Regions from separate parts of the Homo sapiens genome. Here regions 2, 3, 4, 5, 6 and 7 are each linked to region 1. The links are contacts of gene promoters, found by promoter capture Hi-C in human tissues and cell types (Jung and others, 2019). All regions are on one chromosome and are shown on one strand. Each heading gives the region's core, a stretch centred on a gene start or on the middle of the fragment in contact. The rest is flanking DNA. Distances are from core to core; before and after follow the strand shown.

What was found. The method cuts DNA at HindIII sites, captures the fragments that hold promoters and counts their contacts. A contact is called where the count stands out against the background at its distance.
Region 2: the fragment with the promoter of CCR10 here is called in contact with a fragment that was not itself captured in region 1 in 2 of the 25 tissues and cell types used here (lymphoblastoid cells and mesendoderm cells).
Region 3: the fragment with the promoter of EZH1 here is called in contact with a fragment that was not itself captured in region 1 in 1 of the 25 tissues and cell types used here (adrenal gland).
Region 4: the fragment with the promoter of RAMP2 here is called in contact with a fragment that was not itself captured in region 1 in 3 of the 25 tissues and cell types used here (aorta, dorsolateral prefrontal cortex and hippocampus).
Region 5: the fragment with the promoter of WNK4 here is called in contact with a fragment that was not itself captured in region 1 in 1 of the 25 tissues and cell types used here (lymphoblastoid cells).
Region 6: the fragment with the promoter of COA3 here is called in contact with a fragment that was not itself captured in region 1 in 2 of the 25 tissues and cell types used here (adrenal gland and lymphoblastoid cells).
Region 7: the fragment with the promoter of AOC2 here is called in contact with a fragment that was not itself captured in region 1 in 6 of the 25 tissues and cell types used here (H1 embryonic stem cells, dorsolateral prefrontal cortex, heart left ventricle and 3 more).

The regions. Positions count from the first base shown.
Region 1 is chr17:43,113,906-43,117,145 of GRCh38, forward strand. BRCA1 (BRCA1 DNA repair associated) reads right to left here. Exons shown (of 23, transcript NM_007294.4): 3 at 1,821-1,874. Among named protein-coding and RNA genes, the nearest start is that of BRCA1, 9.8 kb to the right of the region's middle. The HindIII fragment of the contact is 5,789 bases long and covers 1-3,240 here.
Region 2 is chr17:42,680,202-42,683,441 of GRCh38, forward strand. It overlaps CCR10 (C-C motif chemokine receptor 10), which reads right to left and starts at 1,642. Exons shown (of 2, transcript NM_016602.3): 1 at 1,599-1,642; 2 at 1-416. The coding sequence starts at 1,622. It overlaps CNTNAP1 (contactin associated protein 1), which reads left to right and starts at 2,330. Exons shown (of 24, transcript NM_003632.3): 1 at 2,330-2,695. The coding sequence starts at 2,629. RefSeq lists enhancers at 1-644, 1,863-2,481, 2,425-2,474, 2,735-2,784 and a silencer at 1,030-1,324. The HindIII fragment of the contact is 6,302 bases long and covers 1-3,240 here.
Region 3 is chr17:42,743,539-42,746,778 of GRCh38, forward strand. EZH1 (enhancer of zeste 1 polycomb repressive complex 2 subunit) reads right to left here and starts at 1,502. Exons shown (of 21, transcript NM_001991.5): 1 at 1,473-1,502. RefSeq lists a silencer at 1,080-1,659. The HindIII fragment of the contact is 12,026 bases long and covers 1-3,240 here.
Region 4 is chr17:42,759,474-42,762,713 of GRCh38, forward strand. RAMP2 (receptor activity modifying protein 2) reads left to right here and starts at 1,754. Exons shown (of 4, transcript NM_005854.3): 1 at 1,754-1,885; 2 at 2,361-2,426; 3 at 2,882-2,990; 4 at 3,124-3,240. The coding sequence starts at 1,789. It overlaps RAMP2-AS1 (RAMP2 antisense RNA 1), which reads right to left and starts at 1,784. Exons shown (of 6, transcript NR_024462.1): 1 at 1,407-1,784; 2 at 1,162-1,238; 3 at 953-1,040; 4 at 266-407. RefSeq lists a silencer at 1,868-1,957. The HindIII fragment of the contact is 24,962 bases long and covers 1-3,240 here.
Region 5 is chr17:42,779,058-42,782,297 of GRCh38, forward strand. WNK4 (WNK lysine deficient protein kinase 4) reads left to right here and starts at 1,553. Exons shown (of 19, transcript NM_032387.5): 1 at 1,553-2,259. The coding sequence starts at 1,642. VPS25 (vacuolar protein sorting 25 homolog) reads left to right here. Exons shown (of 6, transcript NM_032353.4): 6 at 1-542. The coding sequence ends at 12. RefSeq lists an enhancer at 1,626-2,583. The HindIII fragment of the contact is 5,514 bases long and covers 1-3,240 here.
Region 6 is chr17:42,796,934-42,800,173 of GRCh38, forward strand. COA3 (cytochrome c oxidase assembly factor 3) reads right to left here and starts at 1,771. Exons shown (of 2, transcript NM_001040431.3): 1 at 1,535-1,771; 2 at 692-1,234. The coding sequence starts at 1,748. The coding sequence ends at 1,128. It overlaps CNTD1 (cyclin N-terminal domain containing 1), which reads left to right and starts at 1,928. Exons shown (of 7, transcript NM_173478.3): 1 at 1,928-2,303. The coding sequence starts at 2,135. It overlaps WNK4 (WNK lysine deficient protein kinase 4), which reads left to right. Exons shown (of 19, transcript NM_032387.5): 19 at 1-133. RefSeq lists enhancers at 1,454-1,523, 1,664-1,713, 1,734-1,783. The HindIII fragment of the contact is 12,523 bases long and covers 1-3,240 here.
Region 7 is chr17:42,842,885-42,846,124 of GRCh38, forward strand. AOC2 (amine oxidase copper containing 2) reads left to right here and starts at 1,696. Exons shown (of 4, transcript NM_009590.4): 1 at 1,696-3,240. The coding sequence starts at 1,743. It overlaps PSME3 (proteasome activator subunit 3), which reads left to right. Exons shown (of 11, transcript NM_005789.4): 11 at 1-876. The HindIII fragment of the contact is 18,620 bases long and covers 1-3,240 here.

The DNA of each region.
Region 1 (3,240 bases), core at 481-2,980:
CTCGACTAAAAATACAAAAATTAGCTGGGTGTGGTGGCAGATGCCTGTAATCCCAGCTACTCAAGAGGCTGAGGCAGGAGAATCGCTTGAACCCAGGAGGTGGAGGTTGCAGTGAGCCGAGATCACACCACTGCACTCCAGCCTGGGCAATAGAGTGAAACACCATCTCAAAAAAAAAAAAAGACAGGGTCTCACTCTGTCATCTAGGCTGGAGTGCAGTGGTGTGATCATAGCTCACTACAGCTTCGAACTCCTGGCCTTAAGTGATCTTCCTGCCTTGGCCTCCCAAAGTGCTGGGGTTATGGGCAGGAGCTACCACACTGGGCCCTTGAGTCCCTGTAATAATAGTATAGTATGTTCAGCATTTGTTACTCAAGCTGACAAGAAAACATACAGTTCATTCCAGAAAGATTCTCATCCAGATAAATTGAAAGCCCCAGGGCTTTAAAGGTTAATCTTTAGCTCTCTGTAGTAAATACTGGGACTTTTTTTTTTTTTTTTGAGTCTCCCTCTTGTCGCCCAGGCTGGAATGCAGTGGCATGATCTTAGCTCACTCAGATGAAAATTATGGACTATCTTCCCAGAAAAATGTACATGGCCATAGTTTTGAATACAATTTAAATATAATTCTAGGAAATTCATAAAGACTATTCATAAACCCCAAGTTAAGAACTCTGGAATTTAAAAATTCCTCAAAGGATACATAAGAAATTGATCATTGTGGTTGTCTGGGGAGGGAACAGGGAGGCAGGGGTTGTAGGGTAAGAGGGAAGTATACTTTGCATCATATACCTTTTTGTGCTAATAAACTTTTTACCAAGTACATAGTTTGTACCTGGTACCAGGTTATGTACCAGGTACATAAATACTTAAAAACAAATTAGTTGACATTTAAGGTAAGATGTGAGCCATAGCTTAACATAAAGAAAAGGAGAAAGCCCACTTGTTCTACTAAATTACCTACTCTACTTTTTCTGAAATTCTTTTATTAAGAAACAAACATTTTCATTTCAAAAGACAAGATCATCAAATACGTAAATATAACTTGAATCACTGCTATAAATGAATTTTGGCCTAAATAGAAACTGGTATCAGGTCCTTTCCTGTCTTCACAATGATTACAAAGCGGGCAAACACTGACCCTTAGAAGGGGGAATGCATAAGGATATGCAGAAATGAACAGAAAGGAGAAACTGGGAAGGCTCAAACACAATGTGCTTATTTCAAAACTGCTTGCAGTTTGCTTTCACTGATGGACACAAAAAATACAAAACACTGTTCAAAATGATGTTACATCCTAATAGATAATATATGTCAGTCGGGTGTGGTGGCTCACGCCTGTAATCCCAGAACTTTGGGAGGCCGAGGCAGGTGGATCACAAGGTCAGGAGTTCGAGACCAGCCTGGCCAATATGGTGAAACCTTATCTCTACTAAAAGTACAAAAATTAGCCAAGCATGGTGGCGGGTGCCTGTAGTCCCAGCTACCTGGGAGGCTGAGGTAGAAGAATCGCTTGAACTCGGGGGGCGGAGGTTGCAGTGAGCCAAGATCATGCCACTGCACTCCAGCCTGGGCGACAGAGCGAGACTTTGTCTCAAAAAAAAAAAAAAAGATAATATATGTCAAAACTTTACCAGGAACTATGATTACAACCAACTTTTGATAACTATATACTCTCTGAGAAAGAATGAAATGGAGTTGGATTTTTCGTTCTCACTTAATTGAAGAAAGTAAAGCTTCTATAAAGTTAGGTGTTTCCTGGGTTATGAAGGACAAAAACAAAAGCTAATAATGGAGCCACATAACACATTCAAACTTACTTGCAAAATATGTGGTCACACTTTGTGGAGACAGGTTCCTTGATCAACTCCAGACTAGCAGGGTAGGGGGGGAGAAAAAGAAAATAAATGAGGCTCAATAATTTATTTAAAAATAAAGCTATTCTTAGTGAATAAGTTCAACTTTGAGCTGTTATGACTGAGTCAACATAAGGCCTCAAGTTCGTTCAATATTTATTAAATGTCTGCTGTGTCAGGAACTGAGAATACAGCAGAGAATACGATCCTTACCTTCAGTGAGCTTTCAGATATCAAAACAGAATTATATTGATCCCTTCAATACTCTATACTATCATCAGCATTTAAAAGATTAGTTGATAATAGTTCGTACGAATTCATTTCCAGTGATATATTTTTCTGCACTATCACTGTGGGTGCACATCTCATCTTTAAGCTCCATAAAGACAAAATTTTCTGCTTATATTTCTTTTGAATTCCTTCCTAGAACTTTTTTTTGTTTACTGTAAATGCCTTTTTAACTTAATATGGAAAATTTCAAGTATTTCAAAATTTCAAGTAAATAAAATAATAAAATGAACTATATGGACCATCACCCTGGTCCAACAACCATCAACTCATGGCCAAGCTGTTTCACCCATATCCACCCCTACCCCAGATTATTTTAATTATTATTACTTTTAAGATAAGGTCACACTCTGTCACCTAGGCTGGAGTGCAGTGGTGCAAACATACCTCACTGCAGCCTTGAACTCCTGGGCTCAAGCAATCCTCCCAGCACGGGGTTTACAGGCATGAGCCAACACACCCAAACCCAAGTGTCTTCTTTTTTTTGAGATGGGGTTTTGCTTTTGTAGCCCAGACTGGCATGCAATGGTGCGATCTCGGCTCACTGCAACCTCTGCCTCCCAAGTTCAAGTGATTCTCCTGCCTCAGCCTCCCAGGTAGTTGGAACTACAGGCGTGCGCCACCACGCCCGGCTGATTTTTCGTATTTTTAGTAGAGTTGGGGTTTCACCATGTTGGCCGGCTGGTCTTGAACTCCTGACCTCAGGTGATCCGCCTGCCTTGGCCTCCCAAAGTGCTGGGATTACAGGTGTGAGCCACCATGCCCAGCCCCAAGTGTCTTCTGATCTATAGGTGTCTCTTACTTTTTCTCCCTTGTCATTTATTTTTAAAATTAGGTCATTTGACCTGTGGAGTTTCCCCCATTCTGGATTTTGCTGATTGTATAACCCTATGGTGAGGTTTAACTTGTTCCTCTAGCCTTATTTCCTATAAACTAGACTTACAGGCTTAATCATTCAGGTTCAACTTTCTGGCAAGAACACTTTACAGATGGTACTGTGTACTCTTATTAGATCACTTCAGAAGAGGCATGATGTTTGGTTTGTGATTACTTTGTAAAAACAGTGTAATAAGTACTCACTAAAGGAAATTTAGAA
Region 2 (3,240 bases), core at 392-2,891, 430 kb before region 1:
GGGAGCGCTCGCGCGATGGCCACGTAGCGGTCGGCGCTGATACAGGCCAGGAAGAGGAAGCCGGCGTGGAAGGAGGCCGAGTAGAGGCCAGAGATGGTGCGGCAGGTGGCACTTCCCAGACTCCAGCCCTGAAGAGCCCCTGCTGCCGCGAAGGGCAGAGTCAGGGCCAGCAAGAGGTCGGCCAGGGCCAGCTGGAGCAGGTGGGCAGAGGTGGGCGAGCGCGCTGCGCGTCGGGCTGCCAGGTGGGTGGCCAGGACCAGGCCATTGCCGGCCAGACCCAGCGCAGCCACGGTCAGGGAGACACTGGGTTGGAAGGCCCGGCTGAAGGCCTGGACATCGGCCTTGTAGCAAAGCTCCGGCAGTGGCTCAGCCGAGTATGCGTCCTCTTCATCCCCAGAGTAATGGCCCCAGGAAACCTGGGAGGGTCAAATGAGAGGCGGGATCTTATGAGACACATCTGACCACACAACTCCCCCGCCCACACTTGCCTTCCAAGCTGAGAGCTCCTGTGTGGCCAGATGTAACAGTACACGGGGAGACATAAGCTCTTCTCCAGACTCTTCCTAGCACACCTTCAGCAGGCCTTGGCTTCCCTTGCACCCCTCCTACCTCTGCTTCCAGCTTCCTGGGTGACCTTGAGCAAGCCACTTGCTCTTTCTAGACCTCAGTTACCTAACCTGTAATGTTGAGATTATAAATCCTGACCAGCCCACCTCTCAAGGTTTGCTGTGAAGATGGCAATATGGAAAATAATGGATGGGGAGAACCTGTGTTCTCCAAAGGCCATAATACAAAGTTTGTATTATTATTATTATTTATTATTATTATTATTGGAGACAGAGTCTTGCTCTGTCGCCCAGGCTGGAGTGCAGTGGCACGATCTCGGCTCACTGCAACCTCCGCCTCCGGGTTCAAGAGATTCTCCTGCCTCAGCCTCCCAAGTAGCTGGGACTACAGGCGCCCACCACCACGCCCAGCTAATTTTTGTATTTTTAGTAGAGATGGGGTTTCACCATGTTGGCCAGGATGGTCTCGAACTCCTGACCTCAGGTGATCCGCCCACCTTGGCCTCCCAAAGTACTGGGATTACAGGCCTGAGCTACCACGCCCAGCCCAAAGTTTGTATTATTAATAAATCCTACAGCTTCAGTTCCCTTTGCAGCGCCCTCTCCTGGAAGGATGCCCATATGCAGGCTTTGCCTCAGACCTGAGCCCTGGACTCCAACCTCCGTCTGGAGTGGGTTTCTGTTTCTCTTCTTTCCCTTCCATACCCACCTTCCCTGTACCTCCAATACCAGCACACTGAACCACTCATGCCAAGGGGGTCTCCAGGGTTGGGACTCAGGTTTTCAGGGCCCAGGTGGGACCCTGGACCTCTAGGTTCAACCCGCCTTTCCCCTCAGCCCTAGTCCCTGTCCCACAACCCCAGCCTCACACCACCAGCCCATTTATCTGGAGGACCCCTAGTCTGAGACAGCGCCAAGAATCCTGAATAAGCCATAGGATGGCAGAGGCCCATTGCCAGGTGGGGAATCCCATTCCTTCCCTGTCTCCTCCCTCTCTGTAACCCTTCTCCCCCTCCCTGCCCCCACTCCCACCTGCTCTGTGGCCTCCGTCCCCATCTCTGGCTACACAGGTTTCTGAGGTATAGCCACAGGGGGTAGAAGTTAAACTACTAGCGGGACAGGAAGGAAGAGGCGGGGAGAGGGGCCGAGAGGGAGGTGGGGATTAGGGTCTACGGGGTCACTTTCCCATTCCACCTCCTCCAAAAGACTTCACTCTCTTGTGCAGGATCTGGATTTTACGAAAAAAAAAAAAAGAAGAAGAAAGGAAGGAAAGAGGAAAGAAAGAAAGAAAGAAAGAAAAAAAGGAAGGAAAGAAAGAAAAAAGAATGAACGAAAGAAAGAAAAAATAATTTACTGTCTTTGTCAGTGAAGAAAGAACGGGCTTCGGAATATAATCATTTGCTGTGTGATATTGACTAAGTTTCTTGACCTCTCTGAGCCTGAGGTTTTTCATCTGCAAAGTGGAGTAGGGCAAAAATGCTAAATTCACAGTGCCCAGCACCACTCCTAGAGCATAATTTGCCTTCCGAAAATGTTAAGATTCTTTTACTTACCCTTCATTCCATTTCCAGGCACCCCTCCCCCAAACCACCTCCCTTTTCTTGAAATTTTCAGGATGCTTCTGGCCCTAGGTTCCCTGTCCTCACTCCTGTGGCCCTAGTCCCGGGCAGCCTCGGGTTACTTGGGGTTTTCCCGGTGGCGAGAGGCTCTCTACCCCCGCCCTTTCGCAGCAGGGCTGAGGCACGCGCTTGCGCGGGGTCCGGGAAACCGGCGCGTGCCAGGAGACAGAGGCTGGGGAAGGGGGGAGGTGAGAGGAAAGAGGGTGGAAAGGAGAGGATAGAGAGAGAAGAGCGGAGGACCAGGAACCAGAGAGAGAGAGAGAGAAAAGAGAGAGGAGAGACAGAGCGCTTGGGGGCGAAAGGAGAGAGGGAGGGAAGGGTGGGTAAGGAGGAGAGAGCGGTCTGCTGCAAACCCCAGGAGGAGAGCTTGGAGCCCAAGCCAGAACTCGAGCCCTAGCCGGAGCCGTTCACAGGGAGGCGGCTGCCGGGACCGTCAGCCCTGCATGATGCATCTCCGGCTCTTCTGCATCCTGCTCGCCGCGGTCTCAGGAGCCGAGGGCTGGGGCTACTGTGAGTGTTGGGCTTGGAGGCAGGTGGGGTTGGGCCCAGGAGTCCAGAGCCTGCAGGGCGGCCCCGAACCGCATTGCGGCTGGGTGGTCGCGGGTCCTTCCCGGCCGGCGCGCGCCCGCTGGCTCTCATCTTTTCCTGCCTCTCCCCCGCGCTCCGCATTGCAGCTCTGAGGCTGCCGCGCGCGCCCGGGGCTGGGGCTGGGCTCTGGGAAGAGGATGAAGTCAGCGGGCAGGGATTTGGGGTTGGGATCCAAGCAGGAGCTGGTGCCTGGGTTTGAGGCTAGGGCTGGGGGATAAGTGTATACTGGTGACCGATACTAGGATTAAGGTTTTGCCAGGGCTTAAGGCTGGACTTTGGAGCTGGCCAAGGGGTGGGGTTTGTGGCTAGGGCTGGGGTTTGTGGCTGGGGCTGGGTTTTGTGGCAGGGATCCAAGCAGGAGCTGGTGCCCCTGACTGATGCTAAGGCTGGACATGGAGCTGGTGATGGTGCTAGCACTGGCTGAGGTTGGGTGCAAGGCCTGTATTTGGGGATGGTGCAGGTTTTGG
Region 3 (3,240 bases), core at 252-2,751, 370 kb before region 1:
AGCTCATTGCAACCTTGACCTCCCAGTCTCAAGCAATACTCCTGCTTCAGCCTCCCAAGCAGCTGGGACTATAGGAGAAGGCCACCACATCTGGCTATTTTTTTTTTGTAGAGATGAGGTCTCGCTATTGTTGCCTGAGCTGGTCCCAAACTCCTGGGCTCAAGCTATTCTCCTGCCTGGGCCTCCCGAATGCTGGGATTTCAGATATGAGCCACCGAGCCCAGTCTAAAGTACTTATCTCCTAACACACACTCTCTCCTATGTAAGTAATCTCTTTTATCAGTGGCATATCTGGGGATTCCAAGACTTAAAATAGACAAGCTTTCACAGAAACCTCTAATAGGGTTAGCACCTTCTCAGGCTGGAAACCTCCTTCAATATCAGTTTCCTAAATTTAAAAAACATGGGGTGTGGGAATTTTTTTATTCAGCGGCAGTATGGCAGCAAACGTGGAGGAGACTCGCGTTTTCATTGCCATCCTTGCACCCACCTAATTGTTAGTGTACCTGAGCTCCTTTGCTTTCATCCTCCCCTGCCAAGCGTCAGGTTCCTATCGGCCTGGGCTACATCACATACAACCCTGTATTTCACCCTCCATATTCCTTCACATTCCACGGGGGGCACTAACATCCTTCAGGTATCCCTTCCCTTCCCTGCTCAAGAAACAATTCCTCAGTAGTCACTTTTTATTGAAATAAAAGTTTGTCCCACATTTCCTAACAGGCATGTCCCAAATACAACACCTTGTCTGTGCTTCAAGGCACTTTTATTTATATCATTTGATCCTCGGTTGAATGGTGGGGGTGAGCGATCATTGGCGTGAGACCAAAAGTCTGGAGTGAAGGAGATTCTTGCTCAGGGCCAGGCCTGGGGTGAGGCGACCGAGGCACCCAGGACGCACGTGAGGAGGCGCTCACTGCACTTGCGCGACCCTGAGTCAGTGCTCCTTTACACTTTGTGCCTTGGGAGCCTTACTCACCTCACCCTAGTCCCGGCCTTGTTTTTACTGCTACCCCTCCTCAACATCCCCGAAAGCCATCGCAAGATCAGCCCCGGTCTCTAGCCCTCCCCAAGCACAGCTCCAGGTCCCCAGAGTCCACCTCGCTAAAGGCCCCCGCAGGTGCCACCGCCCTCCCGCGCCCTTTGGGCGCTGGGGCTCCCGCCCACCGGCCCACACCGCCATCCAACGGGATTCCCCGTCCCCGAGCCCGCCCCCGCCGCTCCTCCTCCCGGGCACACAGCCCTCGCAGCCCCAGACGCTGTCCTCGCCTGGGTCTCTCTCGCCCCGTCGCCCCCATTCCCCCACCCTCGGAATGAGGAGGGGCGCCTGCTACCCCCGGCCAGGCAGGCAGTGTGTCCCTCGGATTCCTTCCAATTTCCTGATCCCTCCGCCTCTCCCTCCCTCAGGCCCAGGGCGGCGAGGGGAGGAGGCCCGGCCCCACCGCCCGGCCCAGGCTTGTTTACTCACTCACCCTCCATCCCGAGCCGCGGGTCCCGCTGCTAGGACGCATGCGCGCCGCGGCCCCACCCCTGCGCCGTGCCCCGCCCCGCGCCTCCTGTCGGCGCGTGCGCATTGACTTACCCGTGCCGCGCGGACGCACTACTGTCATTTGCCGCCAAAACCCCGCACTCAGGAGTCCTGGCGGGTGCAGCCTCCCAGACGGCTTCCAAAGCGGCGCTGGCAGGGGAGGGGAAGGGCTCTGGGGAAACCTTCGCAGAGCCACTAATATCTTCCTGAAGACCCTATTCAGCGGATTTGCCATCCCCACGCGCTGGTGACAAGCCACATCTCACTTCAGCGTTTGAAGCCAACCCAGATCACCTTCATACCGATGCTTCACCCCTACCAGTTCTCCAGACACCGGTCTATGGGTTCTAAGCCCTTTATTTATGTCTGATCTCCCTATTTCTGTTCATAGTTTTCTAGTCACTTAGAATCAAAATTATAGCCTTGTATCGAAATAAATCCCCACAAGACACCTGCTAGTTACAAAGGGAAAAAAATAGCAACTTTACAGATAAGAATCTGTCAGACACCACCTTAACTAAGTGATCAAAGTTAGCATCACTAGTGATAAGAGGTATTGTTTTCTTCTTCTTTTTTTGCCGGGGGGCGAGGCTGGACGGAGTCTCGCTTTGTTACTTACACAGGCTGGAGTGCCGTGGCGCGATCTCGGCTCACTGCAACCTCTCCCTCCCGGGCTCAAGCAATTCTCCCGCCTCAGCCTCCCAAGTAGCCAGGAATACAGGTTCGTGCCACCACGCCCGGCTAATTTTTGTATTTTTAGTAGAGATGGGGTTTCACCGTATTGGCCAGGCTGCTGTCAAACTCCTGACCTCAAGTGATCTGCCTACCTCGGCCTCCCAAAGTGCTGAGATTACCGGCATGAGCCACCACGCCCGGCCTCCCTCTTCTTTTTAAGGAGACAGGGTCTTGCTGTGTTGCCTAGGCTGGTCTTGAACTCCAGGGTTCAAGCCATCCTCCCACCTTGATTTCCCAAAGTGTTGGGATTACAGGCATGAGCCATTGCCCCCAGCTGAGAGGTATTCTTACCAGGTCCCTCTGAACATGATGCAATGAGAAGCGCACAAAATCACTTCTGTGGTATTCTTGACGAACACGCATAAGCTGATTTTTTGTGCGTGTTGTTTGTTTGTTTGTTTTGAGACAGTTTCACTCTTGTTGCCTAGGCTGGAGTGCAATGGTGCAATCTCGGCTCACTGCAATCTCTGCCTCCTGGGTTCAAGCGATTCTCCTGCCTCAGCCTCCCAAGTAGCTGGGTTTACAGGCATGCACTACTATACCCGGCAAATTTTGTAATTTTAGTAGAGATGGGGTTTCACCATGTTGTCCAGGCTGGTCTCGAACTGCTGACTCAGGTGATCCCCCCACCTCTGCCTCCCAGTGCTGGGATTACAGGCATGAGCCACAATGCCCAGCCTGCATAAGCTGAATTTAATTATGAGGAAACATCAGACAAATCCAAAATGAGAGACAATCTACAAAATAACTGGCCAGTATCTTCAAGTGTCAAGATCATGAAAGACAAGGGGTGAGAAACCATCTCAGATTGGGAGACTGAGGAGATATGACAACTAAATGTAATGTGTGATCCTGGCTTGAATCCTGGTCCAGAAAAAGAACACCAGTGGGATAATTTGATGAAATTAGAATAAAATCTCTAGATTAATTAATAGTATTTTATCAATCTTATTCCTGGTTTTAATCATTGTAATTGA
Region 4 (3,240 bases), core at 504-3,003, 350 kb before region 1:
TTTGTCCCCTTTAATCTTGACCCCAACCCCAGTCCTAACCCATAGTGGGCTCATGTGCTTCTGGCCCCAACCCAGTGAAAATGGCTTGTTTTGCTTTCTGCACCTCCTTGCTCCTTCCTCCCATCTTATCACTCAGAAATCTCCCATGCTTCCTTCTTGAAAGGAGCAATCCTAGGCAGGCAGGAAGGACTAGATTTGGTCCCAGCCTGAAATGTCTCAGAGACTGCATGGCTCTTTTCTGCATCATTGTAGAAATGATCCTTACCAGGAGGACTTTGGAGTTCACGTCAAGCAGGCCATTGACTCTCTCCCACTGGATTCTTTGCAAAAGCAGCCTCTTGACCATAGAGGAGGACAACAGGTTATCCGTGCCCATGATCCAAGAGCTTGAGATCCTGAGATGAAGACTTCAGGAGAGATCAGGACAGATAATTTGTGGTGGGCAGGAATCAGTAAACTGGGACAACAGCAGCAGCTGAGTCCAAGGGTCAGTGTCTGGGAGTAATTTAGGAAAGTTTGGTGCTGACAGCTGTGTCTGGGACTTGAACGTCATGGCCAAACCAGCTCCTGGGCTCCTCAGCTGCTTCAGACTAATGAACCTCTGGCCCAGGACACAAGAAGCAGCTGTGGTGTGGCTGAAGTCAGGACCCCCGGAGGCCCAGACTCAGCCTTGCTGCTTCCTTAACAGTGTGACCTTAGATAAGTCACTTAGGAAAAGAGGAAAGGAAACTAGCATTTAGCGAGTGCAGTGCCCTTTCACAGCTGCCATCATACAGTGAGGAGGGGAATGTCCCTATTTCACATGAGAAGTCCTGAAGGTAAACGTGTCATTCAAGGCTCTATAGCTGGGGAGTAAGAAGACAGAATTAGAACCCAGAGCTTCTGAATTCAAATCCCGGGCTGTTGGCCCTGAGCTTTAGCTTCTCGGTCTGTAAAATGGTGTTACACTCACCTGGCACATGAAGTCGCACACTGAAGGTTCTAAAACCCCTCCATTCTTTCTCCCAACCGTGGTCCTGAAGAGCTGTGGCACCTTCTTCCTGGGAACGTAGTCATCGTATTTTGCCCTCCCCACAACAGGTTTGTGGGGTCTAGGCCCCAGGAGGTGTCTGAAGGGAAGGTATTTGGACTTTGCTTTCCCCTCTACCCCACTCCCCAGACCTTCTCCCGACTCCAGAGGGCTGGCTCCCGCTTCTCCTCCCTGGTTTTGGCTGGCGGACTGACATCAGCTGGTATTCCTAGGGATAGGATAAGGAACCCTGAGCTGCATGGCTCAGCTCCAGGCGCCCCTTCCCCCACAACCCAGGACAGCCCCTTAGAAGCAGCGGCGTCGAGAGGCCGCTGGAGCTCCCAGCCCCCTCCCTCTTCTCCACGTCTGGGAGAGCAGCTTGCCGACCCCTCCAGACCCGAAAGAGAGAGGGGGCGACTCGAATTCGGGGAGCGATCCTGGGAGACCCTGGAGAGTCCTGGGCGCCACGCAGCCGAGCCCCCGAAATAGATCCCGGTTCCGGGGTTCCGGGAGCTGTCCAGCCTCGCGGGGTGAGCTACGAGAGGGTGGGCCAACGCCGGCGAGGCGGAGGGAGCCGCGGGCGCCAGGCGCGGGTGAGGCAGCGACTCCCCCTCCAGCCGCGGGCCCCGAGCGTCGCCCCCGCCCCCCACGTGGCCGCCGCCGTCCCAGCCCCTCCGAGGAAGCGGCGCGGCTTCCTGCAGCTTGGGCTGGGGATATAGGCGCCCCCACACCCGGGCCCGGCTCAGCGCCGCCGCCGCTCCTCGCCTCCTTGCTGCACGATGGCCTCGCTCCGGGTGGAGCGCGCCGGCGGCCCGCGTCTCCCTAGGACCCGAGTCGGGCGGCCGGCAGCGCTCCGCCTCCTCCTCCTGCTGGGCGGTGAGCGCGGCGCCCCGAGGCCCGGGCGGGAGGCGCGAGAGGCCCCGGAGGGGAGAGGGGAGAGGGGAGAGGGGCTGGATGGCCGAGGCCGGAACGGGCCCTGGGGTGCGGGTTAGGACCGACGTACCTAGCAGCACTGGCCCTCGGACGGTCCCTGACCCCACCTCGGGGCGGGCGCAGCATGAGCTGCTTCCCACCCAGGGAAAGCTGGGGTGCTGGCCCCGGCCCCTCGAAGAGGGCTTAGGAGGACGGAAGCTGGCCAGAGATGAGGGGGCTTTGGGCCTGGGTGTGAGTGACAAGGAGCTGGTGCCAGCCCCTCCCTCCCCGGCACTGAGGCGTCCGTGGGGGCTAGATTATTCCTCCTTTTCTTCCAAGGTAGCCTATTTTCGGAGGGTCTCAGTCCCCCAACCCCCCTCGCAGGCTCCACTGCCGGGGTCCCCGCTATGTTACCCTCCTCTCCCGTTTCTTCCCACAGCTGTCCTGAATCCCCACGAGGCCCTGGCTCAGCCTCTTCCCACCACAGGCACACCAGGGTCAGAAGGTGGGTACCCAGGGTGTGGAAGGGTGGCCGAGGGTAAGGACGAGAGCAAGTTCAGTGGGGAGGGTTCCTTTCCCACGAGGCCTGCCCAACCCCAGCTGATGCCCCACTACACTCCCCTCTGTTCTTTCTTGGGGTTCCTCGTGGTCTTTCTCCCTGTCCTCCTACAAAGCCCCTGCACGGCTCTGAGCTGCCCACCTCACAAGTGGGCGAGAAGACCCCAGGAAAAGGTGTACGTGGAAGTTCTTATCAGGCTGGGATGGAAAGTGCTTAGCACATGGAAGTCATTATAGGATTCCTGAGCTGGGACTCTGTCCTCAGCCAGAATGTTTTGCTAGGGAAACTTTCTGAAGGGTTCCCACGTTTGAAGACAGGCAGTTCACCTTGCAAGCACCTGGGCAGGAGGGTTTGTAGGGAGGGGTAGGGGTGTGGTCATTGTGTAGCATCTGTACCTACAGGGGGGACGGTGAAGAACTATGAGACAGCTGTCCAATTTTGCTGGAATCATTATAAGGATCAAATGGATCCTATCGAAAAGGATTGGTGCGACTGGGCCATGATTAGCAGGTAGGGGCAGTGATGGAGGGTGGCTCAGGCCAGGGGGTGGACCTGCTCATTGCAGGTAGACCCTGAGTGAGAGTGGGGCACTCTTCTCCCTGGGTCCACCCCCTCTCTCACTCAAGTCCTCTTCTGCCCCTAGGCCTTATAGCACCCTGCGAGATTGCCTGGAGCACTTTGCAGAGTTGTTTGACCTGGGCTTCCCCAATCCCTTGGCAGAGAGGATCATCTTTGAGACTCACCAGATCCACTTTGCCAA
Region 5 (3,240 bases), core at 303-2,802, 340 kb before region 1:
AAGTTCTTCTAGCAGGGACCTGTCTCCCTTTACTTCTTACCTCCCACCTTTCCAGGGCTTTCAAAAGGAGACAGACCCAGTGTCCCCCAAAGACTGGATCTGTGACTCCACCAGACTCAAAAGGACTCCAGTCCTGAAGGCTGGGACCTGGGGATGGGTTTCTCACACCCCATATGTCTGTCCCTTGGATAGGGTGAGGCTGAAGCACCAGGGAGAAAATATGTGCTTCTTCTCGCCCTACCTCCTTTCCCATCCTAGACTGTCCTTGAGCCAGGGTCTGTAAACCTGACACTTTATATGTGTTCACACATGTAAGTACATACACACATGCGCCTGCAGCACATGCTTCTGTCTCCTCCTCCTCCCACCCCTTTAGCTGCTGTTGCCTCCCTTCTCAGGCTGGTGCTGGATCCTTCCTAGGGGATGGGGGAAGCCCTGGCTGCAGGCAGCCTTCCAGGCAATATGAAGATAGGAGGCCCACGGGCCTGGCAGTGAGAGGTGTGGCCCCACACCGATTTATGATATTAAAATCTCAACTCCCACTGCCTGCCTCTTAAATTACTACAGTACTGGAATGGGGATGGGGAGGGCTGTGAAGTGTTGCCACCTGAGTAAATCCCAGCCTGGGAGAGGGGAGAGAAAAGAAAGCTTATGGCTTTTGTAGAAGAAAAGGTCCTCCAGGGCCCTGTGGGCTCCAGTGAGCCTGTGGTTTTACATCTGCTGGGTGGGCTGTGTGGAGGAGTGCTGATGGAACACAGCTTGGGGACAGACTGCTTTCTCTCTGAATTGGAGTCACTTAAGGGCTCCCCCTTCCCTCACCATCTCCCTCATGGAAGTCCTGAACTACTCTGAAGCCCCTCCCTCCACCCATCTGGTCTGGGTGGGGTAACTGTGGCCAAGGGGAGCTGAGGGGGGTAAGCCGGATGTGGACTTTGGTTTATTGGAGACTGGCAAACAGAAGGGGAGGAAGGAGAGCCCATATAGCAAAAACAGCCACTCTGGCCAGGGTTAGGCTGCGGCCAAGGTGGCCTGGAGGGGATGGATGACCGGGCTCTCGGTTTGGGGGAGGGACTTATCCTGGGGAGTACACACCCATTCCCTATGCAGACCAGAGGGACAACAACGTCAGACCTTTCCACTGACCTCTCCGTTCGGCCTGGGGCTACTCCGGACAGTTAGGAGGGGGTGGTGCTGCCTTATCTGGGGTGTGCAGGAGGGTGGTAGCCTCCCCCTAAGTAATCCCCCACTAGGGTCCGGGTGTCGTTCTCTCCTGCCCTCCTCCGCGCACAAACAGGTTTGCTCACTCTTAGTGCGGGAGGATGCTCCGCGGTCTCCCACTCAGTTCTGGCCTCAGAGTGAGACTGCGGCCGGGGGCTCGGGAAAGAAGGGGACGCGGCTGGGCGGGGCGGTGACTAAGGTGAGGGGCTGCTCGCGGGATCCGCACCGCGGGAGCAGCTCGGAGGGGCGGCCCTGGGGGGCAAGGGCGGGCCGCGGGGCGGCGACGGGGGCGGGGCCAGGCCGAGCTGGGGGCTGGGGCCGCAGCCGCTCAGCCGGAGCGCAGCGCACCCAGCGAGTCCGTCTGTCAGGCCGCCTCCTCTCCGGCCGTCTGATTTTCTACCCTTCGGCGCCCTGCTCTTCCTCATGTTGGCATCCCCGGCCACGGAGACCACCGTCCTCATGTCCCAGACTGAGGCCGACCTGGCCCTGCGGCCCCCGCCTCCTCTTGGCACCGCGGGGCAGCCCCGCCTCGGGCCCCCTCCTCGCCGAGCGCGCCGCTTCTCCGGGAAGGCTGAGCCCCGGCCGCGCTCTTCTCGTCTCAGCCGCCGTAGCTCAGTCGACTTGGGGCTGCTGAGCTCTTGGTCCCTGCCAGCCTCACCCGCTCCGGACCCCCCCGATCCTCCGGACTCCGCTGGTCCTGGCCCCGCGAGGAGCCCACCGCCTAGCTCCAAAGAACCCCCCGAGGGCACGTGGACCGAGGGAGCCCCTGTGAAGGCTGCGGAAGACTCCGCGCGTCCCGAGCTCCCGGACTCTGCAGTGGGCCCGGGGTCCAGGGAGCCGCTAAGGGTCCCTGAAGCTGTGGCCCTAGAGCGGCGGCGGGAGCAGGAAGAAAAGGAGGACATGGAGACCCAGGCTGTGGCAACGTCCCCCGATGGCCGATACCTCAAGTTTGACATCGAGATTGGACGTGGCTCCTTCAAGACGGTGTATCGAGGGCTAGACACCGACACCACAGTGGAGGTGGCCTGGTGTGAGCTGCAGGTGCGGCTGGGAGCCCCCTCGGTGGCACCTTGGGATGGGACTCTGGAGGTCTTAGGATGACAGACAGAGGGTGGGGGAGACAGCATCAAGGGAAGCATGTATTTTTCCAGTCAAATGTCTATAGACACCTCTGCTGTCTTTGCCCTGAATGATCTGGCTGACTCTGGGCTGCAGAAGGAGAGATTGAGGCAGGTGGTGTCTGGTGACTCCCCCATGGGTATGAACATTCTCACTTTAAAGTCTCCATACTCAACCCTGAGAGGTGGAAAATAGGATGGGAAGTTAGGCAGGGGAGCCAGTTCAGGTCAGTTTCCTGCTGGTGGGTACCCGCAATCCCTTCCTCTCCCCTAAGTCCTGAGATCCTCAGTTATGACCCTGGTCCTCTTGATCCCCTCACTCCTCCCGTCCCCCACCTATTTGCAGACCAGGAGGCTGGGATGCGGGAAGCCAGGAGCTGGGCAAGGGTCATCTCCAACTCCAGAAGATTTAGGGCAGTTGTGGCAGAATAGGGCCCCCTAACCCCTTCTGGAGCAGTCAGACTTCTGGACTTCTCCACAGCTGCGAGGAGGGGGACATAGGGAGCTCCAGCTCTCGAGTGAGTCCAGTTCTGCTCCTCATCCCACTGCCTACCTGTGCTCTCCCTTCCCAGACCTAAAGGCACTAAGCCCATGGGCTTTAGGGGGACCTTCCTCCCATTGCTCCCATGCTACATATGGGTTAGGAGAACCCAGTCAACTTGGGGCCTGAAGCTTCCGATTCAGATCAGGGGACAGAGCCTAGGGGAAGGGTCCCTCTCCAGCCCTGGCACAGGGCTCGCCCCTTGCGCCTGCCAGTGCCGCGCCCCAGGCTCTGGGCCAGGCCAGGAGAGGCAGCCAAATTGGGGGGTGAGGGGAGGGAGAGGAGCCGGGGCGGGACGACTATGGGGGTGGGCAGCCTCCTGGCGCCTAGTCCTGGATCTTTTCTTTCCTTCTCAGTACCTCC
Region 6 (3,240 bases), core at 521-3,020, 320 kb before region 1:
GCCAAGAGTCAACCACTAAGCAATCCCACCCAAGCCTGGATGCTTCTAGAGGGGCCCACTCCCAGCTGGGAGAGTGTAGGGGATATGCTCACACCACATTAGCAGCAACCAATAAAAATGCTGGAAACAAGAACGCCGTGAATCCATATGCCATGCCTTAGGAATTGGGGGAGCAAAGACTTGTGGGGTGAGGCAGGGGAGGATTTAAAAGGGACTTTCTTTTCACAATGGGAGGCAGGGGTGGAAGCTGCCCAGCCCTCTGGCTTCCTGCCATCAGTTAATGAGGAAACTGCAAGGTCAGTGATCCACTTGACTAAGTTAGGATCCCCTCCAGACCCCACCCTAGACCTGTATAGGCAGGTACCAGGGAAAGTTAAAAGAATGAAGACTGCTTGTCTTTCACCCTTCATCCACCTCTCTCTCCCTCCCTCTCTCTGGGGATGGGAAAAGCAGTAGAGTTACAGTATGTTCTTGTGGGTAGAGGACAGAAGAGTGACCTTCCTTCCCCTAAGACGTGGGTTCAGTCTCAAACTGCCCAGTGATCTCTCCCTTAAATCAGGTGGAAAGATCTCATGGAAAAAGTAATTCTAGTTAAACATTTACAGCTCCCTGGGGCAATGCCACCACTGCAGCTACTGCTTGTGAAGCTTTCCAGCATGAAGTGCCATATGCTGCCTCTCAGCCTCCATACTCACTTGACTCCAGGAGAATGACTCAGTTTATTATTCTCAATTTGACCCTATGTATCCCACTGTAGGCTCAAACACTGCACAGAGCTGCCACGTCTAACCTCGTAACAACTGCGTCCCTGGAAGGTGAAGGGGGTAAACCACAAAGTCAGAAACTTTGGGAAAAGCCACGGTCGCATGCACACCTCTCAAACAAGGAAACAAACTACAAGAAAGGGCTCAGTCATTGTACACAGCAAGTGTGCAGTGGGCAAAGTTCTGTTCTTTTGACATTGGCCAAATGCGTAAGTCCCTGGTTTCTTGGGCTCAATCACGGTCCAAGGTTAGTAAGAAGGCCAACAATGTTGTGAGCAGGATTCAATTTCTACAGGGTCATGGGGCATCATCCACCATGTGAAGGGGCTCCAGCAGGTTGGACATGATCAATACCCATCCAGATTAGGACCCTGACGCCCTTGCCAGAGCTCGGGCTCGGGCAGCTTTGGCCTCGTCTTCTAGCTCATCTAGGAAACGCTCCTGGGAAATCGAGTAGAAGGTGTAACCATCTGGGGAGGTAGGTTCAGGAAACCACACAGAATATGCACATTCCCCTTTCCTAGATTTGCTCTACCACTCTTGTTACTCTCCCAAATCAGTGATTCCGGCTTCCCGCCGCTGCTGTTTCTAAACCCTGAACCCCAATTCCGTTATTATTAATAAATCAAATTAAAAGAGTACCTTAGGAATAACAAAGGAAAGTACTACCCATTTTACCCCAAAATTAAACGGGTGGTTCAGCCCTCTTGCACACTCTGTTCCCCTGCCCCTATATGCGGTCCCCTTGAGTCTACAACACGGACGGATACAAATAGCCAACACCAGGGCCCCGATGCCTAGGCCGGTCACGATGTTCCGGGTTCGCCGCCGTGGTAGGACCTTCTGCCACTGGGCAAGCTCCGCCTGCCGCATGGAATGCAGTTGCTCGGGTGTCAGCTTCTCCCGAGTCGGGTCGATACGCTGAGCGAACGGGGCCTCTCCACGCTTAGAATCCAGAGGGTCACCAGCTCCCGAAGACGCCATGTTGCCACTCCTCCCTTCGCGGTGCCGCCGCGCGGGCCTCGCTGGGAACAGTAGCCCTTGGCCGCTGCAGTGGACTCTGGGAGTTGTAGTCCGCGTGCCCTTTGCGGGGCAGAGCCGCGGTTCCCGGGCACAGGGGATGGACGCGGGAGGTGAGAAGCGGACGTGCTTTCTGATTGGCTGAGGAGTCCGTGGCCGTTGGGGCGGGAAAAAGCTGTGGAGGGTTCGAGGCTGTGGTGGTAATTGGGTTTTCCTCAGACTTGAGGCGACGACACACTCATTGGAAGGGGACGAGGAATCCAGGGTGTGGCAGAAGACTGGAGAGGAGCTAAGGGGGTCGGTATGTGGATCCAGTGAACCCGTCCAGGTGCCCCAAGAGGCTCGTGAATATGGACGGACCCATGAGGCCACGATCGGCCTCCCTCGTTGACTTTCAGTTTGGAGTTGTCGCCACAGAGACGATTGAAGACGCCCTGCTTCACTTGGCCCAGCAGAATGAGCAAGCAGTGAGGGAGGCTTCGGGGCGGCTGGGCCGCTTCAGGGAGCCCCAGATCGTGGGTGCGGCTGCAGGGCCGGGGTGCTGGGTTCTTGGGAGACTGGGGCTTGTGTCTTTCAGGCACCGACCTTGAGATTCCGTTGATTTTATTCATTCAGAGAATGTTTGCTAACACCTCTCTGTGGGGTGCTGGGGATATAGTGATGGATAAGTCACAACAGTGCCCTCCCCTTGATTTCTTCGACATGTATGGAATACTTGAGTGGCACCGCTTGGCTAGAAAGATGAAATAGAGGGCCAGGCATGGTGGCTTACACCTGTAATCCCAGCACTTTGGGAGGCTGAGGTGGGAGGTTCACCTGAGGTCAGGAGTTCGAGACCAGCCTGACCAACATGGTGAAATCCTGTCTCTACTAAAAGTACAAAAATTAGCCAGGACTGGTGGCGCGCACCTCTAATCCCAGCTACTCGGGAGGTTGAGACAGGAGAACTGTTTGAACCCAGGAGGCGGAAGTTGCAGTGAGCCGAAATCGTGCCATTGCACTTCAGCCTAGACGACAAGAATGAAACTCCGTCTCAAAAAAAAAAAAAAAAAAAAAAAAAAAAAAAGGCTGGGCGCGGTGGCTCACGCCTGTAATCCCAGCATTTTGGGAGGCTGAGGCGGGCAGATCACGAGGTCAGGAGATCGAGACCATCCTGGCTAACATGGTGAAACCCCGTCTCTACTAAAAATACAAAAAAAAGCCGGGTGTGGTGGCGGGCGCCTGTAGTCCCAGCTACTCCGGAGGCTGAGGGAGGAGAATGGCATGAACCCGGGAGGCGGAGCTTGCAGTGAGCTGAGATGGCGCCACTACACTCCAGCCTGAGTGACGGGTGACAGAGCGAGACTCTGTCTAAAAAAAAAAAAAAAAAAAAAGAGAAAAGAAAGATGAAATAGAGATAGAGGTCTTGCCTTCAAACCATGTGCAATTTGGGGGAGATATTAGAACAAATATGCAA
Region 7 (3,240 bases), core at 446-2,945, 270 kb before region 1:
TTCTGACTTATTTTTCCTGTCTCTGTCTTCCAACCCCCAATAATATTTCCACCGGGGATGCATCATTTTTACTCCCAATATTCTGTAGAGAGGGAGTCAGGATGCTGTCTTCCCACGAATAGTACTCAGTAACAAACCAATTGCATTTTAGTTGGGCAGTGCTCCCACCCACCCTCCAGATCCCTTCCAGCTAAAACCCTTCCCCCTTCCCTCCATGTGTTTCTCAGTTTCCCGTTTCGTTTGTTGGACTGTTCCACTGCCCCTCCTCCTCACCCTATCACCCATGGATCGTAATGTAAAATTCTTTTACCATGTCAAGAAATTATTAAAAATACAGGTACTTTGACCTCTTTCTAAAGCCGCAGACCCTGGTGCAATGCTCTGGTGGCTAGGGATGTACTCATGCTCATATGTGTGCACGCTTGGACACCCACCTCCATGGACACCTAGCCACCCTGTTGTGTGTCCTTATGCCAGTTGAGCTGAATCTTTTCCCCAGTATAGTGGAAAGACTGAGGCTTCTGCCTACTGAGCAAGGTTGGGTGCTTCATTTGTGTTCAGTCTGAATTATGGGAAAGTTAGCTCTTCCCAGACCTAAGCTGCCTTCTCTCCCTACTTTCAGAAGATCCTAGTTCCTTCCTTCCCGAGTGATACCCATGAACTGCCAGTAGAGGCTGCTATCGTTCCATGTGTAAGGAATGAACTGGTTCAAGGCGCGTCCTACCCAGTCATTTTCTTTACCTTATACTAATTCTTCCTGAATAATGTCTTCAGTTTCTTGAGGAGACTCCTAGTTTTGGTTTTCAAATTACTTGGAGGGCTGCCTAGGAATCTATCTCCCTCTGAAATAAAGTTTCCTCATCTTCCACCTTGCAAGTAGCCTTCTGGTTTCCAATGATCCCCTCGTTGTCTCTGTAAAAAGAGTTTAAGGTCTTGAACAATGGAGGAGCAGCTGCTCTGTTCTGTTTCAGAGATGACTACCAAAAGCTAGCGGTTTGTGAGTGCCTCCCCTGTGCCAGGCTGTTAAGTACCTAATGTGCATGATCACATTTAATCTTCAGGAATCTATAGGATAGTTGTATCTATTTGTTACAGATGAGGACACTGAGACTCAGGATAAGTATTTCCGCTAAGGTTACACAGCTGAGGGAACTGGGATTGGTGGACAAACCTGATTACTAAGCCCAGGCCCTCAGCCACTCCACTGGTTGGAAATGGCCTGACTACAAATCAAGGGCTTGGCATTAGGCAACAAGTAGAATTCAGTGCTTACTGCTGAACATGGCAGTGAATCCTGGAGCTGTTGGGATGCAGTTCCTGCCAGGAGGTAGGAAAATGGACAGCTTAGTGCTTGCATGCAGGCTGCAGAACTTAATTGGGCATCTGAGGTTTGTACTCTTCCTGAGACCCATTCCAGGTGGAAACTGGAGGTTAGCATCGTTAACCCAGATTCCCTTTCATCTGGTCTAAATGATGGAAATCAGTAGTTGGTACTGACTGCTACCAGTGGGAGTTCAGGGGCAAGGAAGAGGCTATGCATGTGGAAGCAGTGCCCTGGGCCAAACCACAGGACAGAAAATTGGAACAGAATTACATAAATCAAGGTCAGAAATTTCCTGCCCAACCCATGGGGTGGAGTTTTCTCCCTTCCTATCCATCCTAGCGAATATAAACCCCGACTTGATGTCAGTAACTGGAAGGAGCAGCTGTTAGAATTCTGATTTCAGCTCTCAGCATCCACCATGCATCTCAAGATAGTCCTGGCGTTCCTGGCACTGTCCCTCATTACCATCTTTGCCCTGGCCTATGTTTTGCTGACCAGCCCAGGTGGTTCCAGCCAGCCTCCCCACTGCCCCTCTGTATCCCATAGGGCCCAGCCCTGGCCACACCCTGGCCAGAGCCAGCTGTTTGCAGACCTGAGCCGAGAGGAGTTGACAGCTGTGATGCGCTTTCTGACCCAGCGGCTGGGGCCAGGGCTGGTGGACGCAGCCCAGGCTCAGCCCTCGGACAACTGCATCTTCTCAGTGGAGCTGCAGCTGCCCCCCAAGGCTGCAGCCCTGGCCCACCTGGACAGGGGGAGCCCCCCACCTGCCCGGGAGGCACTGGCCATCGTCCTCTTTGGTGGACAACCCCAACCCAATGTGAGTGAGCTGGTGGTGGGGCCGCTGCCTCACCCCTCGTACATGCGGGATGTGACTGTGGAGCGTCACGGCGGGCCCCTGCCCTATCACCGTCGCCCGGTGCTGAGAGCTGAGTTTACACAGATGTGGAGGCATCTGAAAGAGGTGGAGCTACCCAAGGCACCCATCTTCCTGTCGTCCACCTTCAACTACAATGGCTCTACCCTGGCAGCTGTGCATGCCACCCCTCGGGGCTTGCGCTCAGGGGACCGAGCTACCTGGATGGCCCTCTACCATAACATCTCAGGGGTTGGTCTTTTCCTTCACCCCGTGGGGCTGGAGCTACTACTGGACCACAGGGCCCTGGACCCTGCCCACTGGACTGTCCAGCAGGTCTTCTACCTTGGGCACTACTATGCAGACTTGGGCCAGTTGGAACGGGAGTTTAAGTCTGGCCGGTTGGAAGTGGTTAGAGTCCCTCTACCTCCACCAAATGGAGCTTCATCCCTGAGGTCTCGGAACTCTCCAGGTCCTCTTCCCCCTCTTCAGTTCTCGCCCCAGGGTTCCCAGTACAGTGTGCAAGGAAACCTGGTGGTATCCTCCCTCTGGTCATTTACCTTTGGCCATGGGGTGTTCAGCGGCCTGAGGATTTTTGATGTTCGGTTCCAGGGTGAGCGAATAGCCTATGAAGTCAGTGTCCAGGAGTGTGTATCTATCTATGGTGCCGATTCACCCAAGACGATGCTGACTCGCTATTTGGATAGCAGCTTTGGACTCGGCCGTAACAGCCGAGGCTTGGTGCGGGGAGTGGACTGCCCCTATCAAGCCACGATGGTGGACATCCATATATTAGTGGGCAAAGGGGCAGTCCAGCTGCTTCCAGGGGCTGTGTGTGTATTTGAGGAAGCCCAGGGACTGCCCCTTCGAAGGCACCACAATTACCTTCAAAATCATTTCTATGGTGGTTTGGCCAGCTCAGCCCTTGTGGTCAGGTCTGTGTCATCTGTGGGCAACTATGACTACATTTGGGACTTTGTGTTGTACCCAAATGGGGCACTTGAAGGGCGGGTCCATGCCACGGGTTATATCAACACAGCTTTCCTGAAAGGGGGAGAGGAGG